Linked DNA regions of Homo sapiens: region 1 is linked to region 2. Evidence: promoter capture Hi-C in 16 types of primary human blood cells and fetal thymus (Javierre and others, 2016). All regions are on one chromosome and are shown on one strand. Each heading gives the region's core, a stretch centred on a gene start or on the middle of the fragment in contact. The rest is flanking DNA. Distances are from core to core; before and after follow the strand shown.

The links. The method cuts DNA at HindIII sites, captures the fragments that hold promoters and counts their contacts. A CHiCAGO score of 5 or more calls a contact.
Region 1: the fragment with the promoter of ZFYVE1 here is called in contact with the fragment with the promoter of ENTPD5 in region 2 in 1 of 17 cell types (fetal thymus); the score reaches 5.1 in fetal thymus.

Annotation. Positions count from the first base shown.
Region 1 is chr14:73,025,467-73,028,570 of GRCh38, forward strand. ZFYVE1 (zinc finger FYVE-type containing 1) reads right to left here and starts at 1,640. Exons shown (of 12, transcript NM_021260.4): 1 at 1,460-1,640. RefSeq lists a silencer at 1,343-1,552 and an enhancer at 1,783-1,982. The HindIII fragment of the contact is 5,815 bases long and covers 1-2,336 here.
Region 2 is chr14:74,017,842-74,020,704 of GRCh38, forward strand. It overlaps ENTPD5 (ectonucleoside triphosphate diphosphohydrolase 5 (inactive)), which reads right to left and starts at 1,447. Exons shown (of 16, transcript NM_001249.5): 1 at 1,409-1,447. It overlaps BBOF1 (basal body orientation factor 1), which reads left to right and starts at 1,508. Exons shown (of 12, transcript NM_025057.3): 1 at 1,508-1,693. The coding sequence starts at 1,638. RefSeq lists silencers at 805-1,099, 1,015-1,084, 1,125-1,264, 1,275-1,344, 1,375-1,624. The HindIII fragment of the contact is 9,186 bases long and covers 1-2,863 here.

The DNA.
Region 1 (3,104 bases), core at 390-2,889, 990 kb before region 2:
GGGCAGATCACTTGAGGTCAGGAGTTCGAGACTACCCTGTCCAACATGGTGAAATCCCATCTCTACTAAAAATACAAATATTAGCTGGGCATGGTGGCAGGCACGTGTAATCCAAGCTACTAGGGAGGCTGAGGCAGGAGAATCACTTGAACCCAGGAGGCGGAGGTTGCAGTGAGCCAAGATCTTGCCACTGCACTCCAGCCTGGAAGACAGGGCAAGACTCCCTCAAAAAAAAAAAAAAAAAAAAAAATCTCAAAATTGTGGCTAAAGCTCCTCCTCTTGACAACAAACGCCACCTCTAGGCCCAAGGCATTTAAGAGACTTTGCTGCTCTATTTCCCAGACTGGAATTTTCTGTTCATTCAGATATTAAATTCAGAATCTAAATCACTAAGTGAGTAGTCCTTGGAAGGACAGCCCTCTGCACCCCCACATGCATCCCACAATTGGGAGGAGTGGAGAGGCCTTCACAAAGCTAATGAAAATGTAATAATAAACTTTAGATCTATCAAATACCTGGGCCGACCTGGTTAGCCTTGTAACTGGATTGTTTCAACTCTAGCTAGATGTATATTAAAGACTCAAAACTTAGAAACAATAGTAACAATTTCATCTTTAAAAACAATTTTTTTACACTGTAATTCTTCTGTCCCTTCTTTCACTAACTGAAAAAAAAAAAAAAAAGGAGCAACAGGAGACAATTCCTCTACTTTGACCCATGGCAAAGCCAGGCCTGCAGTGAATCAAAACAAATAATTTTTCTCTTTGTCACTTAAAAACTAACTTAAAAATAACTTCAAAATACGAAAAAAGATAACTGGGGCAAGAAAGGGGCTTTTGTCACTTTGACAATTATATTCCTAATTCCCCCTAGCCTTGACCCGCATTCCAAGGCCCCGACAAGGTGTAAAGCCCTGCCTTTCTGATAGTCACTCCTCCCCTACAGTAATCAATCTATCAACCTTATTTTCAGATAAACAAGGAAGGCGAAGGGAGTGACTAGGGGATCTTATTTACTACAATCTAACCTCAGACATGCCCAGCCAGCTCCCAAAACAGAAACAAAAATCAAACTTGTCACAATTGAGAAAAATATAAAATCAACCTTCAAAAGTACACCTCACGCCCGGCCATGTCAACCAAACATTTTGCCCACTCGGGCCCCCACCTCGACACCTCTCCCCAGCCGGGGGTTCCTCACCCTTCCTTCCACCCGGACACCACCGCCACAACCCGAGGGGCAGGAGCGGAGCCTAAGAACAAAGAAGGTCCCCCAAAATCCCCCCCACGCCGGCAAAACCCGGAGCCGAATCCATTGTTTATACCACCCCACCCCCACCCCCGCCGCACCCGCCCCCCCTTCCTCCCGAGGGCAGCCTGAGCCCCAGGACGATCACTCGCCCCGCGCTGGGCCGTGCCCTCCCCGCCCTGCCCTGCCCGCCGCGGCCCGGGGATCCCACCACTGAGAAGCTCGGCCGCAGCAAGGCGGCGTCGGGGGGCCGCAGGGCGCCAGTGGGGGCAGAGGCTATTCCTCAGGACACCGGCAGATCCATCCTCATCTCCATCTCCGCCACCCTCCTCCTTCGTTGCCTCCCGGGCTTCCTCCTCTCCTGTTGTCAGTTGGGATCAGCTGATCGGAGTGAACTTCTCCCAGCTCGGACTAACAGGAAGGCGTGAGCGGTGCAGCCCAGAAAGGGAGGAGCGAGAGAGGGAGGATCCCGGCGCCAGCAAGGGCGTAGTGCGCACTGCCTCCTGGGAGATGTAGCTCCTCGAGGCGCGCTCTCGCCCCTCATCCCGGAAAGGAAGACTCTGAATGACTACAACTCCCAGTACTGAAGAGGCTGCTCTTGCGAGGAGGCGGTGGGGACAGGCTACGGAGGATTTCGGGACTTGGAGTTTTTGCATTGAGTGTGGTGTCCGCAGGTTTCAGCACGTTCTTTTGGGTTGTAACTGGGGAAGGCATGGTGCTACATTAGAGAACTGATGTAATAATGTCTAGTATAAGTGGGAAATGGTGAGTCAATTAATTTGGATTCAAGTAACCTCTTGCACACCATTCCCTCAGAAACGTGTGAGCACAGACAGTCTCCACCTTCCCAATTTCACTTCGCAAAAACTAAGGAAAAGACCAGAAAAAGTGATAAGAGGATATAGGTACTCTTGGGAAGTTTTTGTTGTTTTTCCCCCCTTGGCAAAGGACAAAATTACAACGAATTTAGTTTTAAGATCTCAGTTGGCTTTATTGCGACTCTAGGATCAGGCAACACTTCATTCCAGAAAGTGGAGTGAATGTTCTGATGAGCTGAGCAGGAGAGGTTGGCTTTGTAGACAGAGAAAAGCTTGAGGAAGCAAAAGCAAAGAACAAAGAGCATATTGGTTTCTTTCTTTCTCTTTCTTGTCATTCTTTTCTTTCCTCTTTCTTCTCTTTTTTTCAGTCTTCTCATGGGACCTTGACATATTGGTCACTTCTAAGCTACTTTCCTTGGAAGGTGAGGACAGAGAGACAGAACAATAGAAAAATAACTGATTAGTTGACATCAGTTACTTCAGGCTACTTCTTTTGTGTAAGGATTACAACAGAGGGAGCTTCATTATCATGCAACATTAAAACAAGCCTGTTTGGGAAACTGGCTGTCCTTATCCCTCTTTCCTGATTTCTCTGAAGGTCAGATAACAACTTAGCTTGGGTTTGGTAACAACTTAGTTTGGATTTGGTGAGGTGAAACTTTAGCATGGGTGACTCCATTTTTATTTTAGCCAGGTCTATTGGGGCCTGGTGCAGGAGTTTAGTCCAAAACAAAGGCCTCCTATCATTTTTACTTAACACCCTTCAAGGGTATTCTCCAAGCCAACCATGAATTTTTTTTCCTACCTATTATTTTTCTGATCTTTCCTTCTATAGTTTCAGAACTTCTCAGGCTGGGCGCGGTAGCGCATGCCTGTAATCCCAGCACTTTGGGAGGTCGAGGTGGACGGATCACCTGAGGTCGGGCGTTCGAGACCAGCCTGACCAACATGGAGAAACTCCATCTCTACTAACAGATACAAAATTAGCCGGGCGTGATGATGCATGCCTGTAATCCCAGCTACTCGGTAGGCTGAGGC
Region 2 (2,863 bases), core at 197-2,696:
CCATTGCACTCCAGCCTAGGCAACAAGAGCAAAACTCTTGTCTCAAAAAAAAGGTTTACAGCCGGGGCGGTGGCCCACGCCTGTAATCTCAACACTTTGGGAGGCCGAGGCAGGTGGATCACCTGAGGCCAGGAGTTCGAGACCAGCCTGGCCAGCATGGTGAAACTCCATCTCTACCAAAAATACAAAAATTAGCCGGGTGTGGTGGCATGCACCTGTAGTCCCACTTACTGGGGAGGCTGAGGCAGGAGAATCGCTTGAACCAAGGAGGTGGAGGTTGCAGGGAGCCGAGATGCCCCACTGCACTCCAGCCTGGGTGACAGAAGACTCTCTCTCAGAAAAAAAAAAAAAAAAGTTTACAAGGCTTATCATTACCAAATCGGCATGTTCCCTCAGAAGAAACAGAAATTCAGAAACAGAAACTATGCAAGTGGGAAACAAGGCGGAGGGGAGTAATTAGAGGTCAAAGACATCGGGAAGGAGTGTACGGATTAAGTCCTCCCTAGAGAAATGGTGACGAAGGATCTACAACCACATTTAAAATAAACTTTTTAATTTGAAATGGAGTATAACAGAGCAGAGCTTCAACCACAAGTCTCCTAACTATTGGCTTGGCACTCAGAATACCGTACCTTCCTTAATGACTCACTGACTGACTCTCATTGAAAAATGAGAATACTTGTGAGTACACTCCTTTTCAGAGGTGTATTCGGGATTTCAGGAGTCGGGGAGGCAAGTTGAAGAGCTTCCAACTTTATGCAACTTTCAGGAAAGAAGGCTGCGGACCGGTATTAGCAAATGGAAATCCGGGGGGCGGTCGTGGGCAGGAAGTATCGGCCACACAGGACCTAGTGAGGCCGAGGACCCTGCTCCCGACCTCGGTGGCAGCACTCCCCTCCCCGCCCGGCTCCCTGGCGTGCCGCTGCTCTTCGGAGGCTGGCAGCCTCGCCCTCAACCACCGCCCTCGGGAAAGTCCTCGACTGCCTATCAAAAAACATTTGGCCTGGGACGTCCGCTGGCTGCACTATCCCTTACAGAATCAGCAAGGGTGAAAAGCCAGGAAAGAGATGCAACCCAAAGGAGTAAGGCAGTGCCGGGAGCGGCAGAAGCGGAGCGGGGGCGAGGGCAAGGTAGCCGCGGCCACGCTGGCTGCGGCATGGAGACACGGGAGGAACGGGACCCGCGGGCGGCACGGGAAAGGGCTGCGGCTCAGACCACTGCGGCGGGACGGGCGGATCAGCGGGGATCTAAGTCTCCTGAGGCAAGGGCGCCCCGACCGCAGCGACTCCTGACACACCCAGGCCGCAGGACGAAGCGCTACCGCCTGGGGCTGCCAGCTCCCGCCTCCCGCCCGCAGAGCCCGGGCCCCACGTAGAGGATCCGGCGCCGCCGACACTCGCACACTCACCGCGCGCGCGCCACCCTTGCGCGGCAGCCCGCCGCCCTCGGCGCGACCTCCGCCCCACCCCGCGCGCCGCGGCGCCTGGGCTACGTCACGGGCGCGTGCGCTCTCCGCGCGCCGTCAGCGGCGCGGGTGGGGCATTGCCAGCTCGGCGTCCCGGTTCCCTTGGAGACAGAGCTGGCCAGGGCGGCCGCGGCTGGGCAACTACGACAGCGGAGCCCCTGGGGAAGCCAAGATGCCGTCGAAGGGAAAGGACAAAAAGAAAGGCAAGAGCAAAGGCAAAGACACGAAGTAAGGAGAAGCCACCCGAGAGTCCCCTCTCCCTGGGCCTGCCTGGGATTTCGGGTCTGGGGCTGGCAACCTGGCGCCCCCCGCGCCGGCCCACTCGGACCCTCTCCCCGGCTCTCCCGGCTTGTGAGGATTACAGCTCCCATGTCCATAGTCTGGCAGATCTCTACTATGTGTTCAGATTATCTTAAACGTGTAGAGGATGTATAAAGTAGTTCCTTGGGCCTTTTCAGAGATCTCTTTTGGTTCAAAGGGGACACCTAAAGTATTTTACCAAGTTGGATAATTATTGAGGTTTTCCCAAACTGATCAGAGCCACTGAGGTGGGTAATGTTCTAGCACTAACCCCTTACAGGCCTGGAGTTGCTGCTAGATTGCTACTAGCCCTATTGGGGGACCCCGGTGGTTTCTGGACACGTTGGAGTCATACGTGGTGTCCAGCAACAACACCATATATGGGAACACAGAGTTGGCACCAAACTTGAGATGTTTGTAAAGTAACTTAAGAGAGTAATTCATGCTCAATACAGAAAGTTTGGGAAACATGGGAAGTACCAAAAGAAAAAACAAAAATCACCTGTAGTCTCATTATCCAAAAATAAACACTACTATATTTTGGAGTATTCTTTTTTAATAAAACGATAGCCCAATGTACATACTTATATGTGGCTTTTTTCTTCCCATTTGTTAATGTAAGTATTCTTTTATGGTATTTTTTTTTTGTTTTTACATAACTGCACAGTTAGTCTAGCCCTTAAAGTGCCAAGGGCTTATCACATTCCTAGAACTCACTAACATATGTTTTCAGATTTTGACCATGCTTCTACAGTACACATTTGAACAATGAGGAACACTAAGGGTAAGAGACCTTATTCCTTGGATTTTCCATGACCCATTGTTTGAGAAACCTGGCTTTGTTTCTACAGTGAGTATCAGTGGTCCTATTAGAGTGTCTAATTTCTTGCATCAAGTACTTTTTTTTTTTTCTTGACACCAAGTTTTGCTCTTGTTGCCCAAGCCGGAGTGCAATGGCACGATCTCAGCTCACTGCAACCTCTGCCTTCTGGGTTCAACCAATTCTCCTGCCTCAGCCTCCCGAGTAGCTGTGATTACAGGCACCCGTCACCACGCCCAGCTAATTTTTTTATTTTTAGTGGAGACAGGGTTTCACCA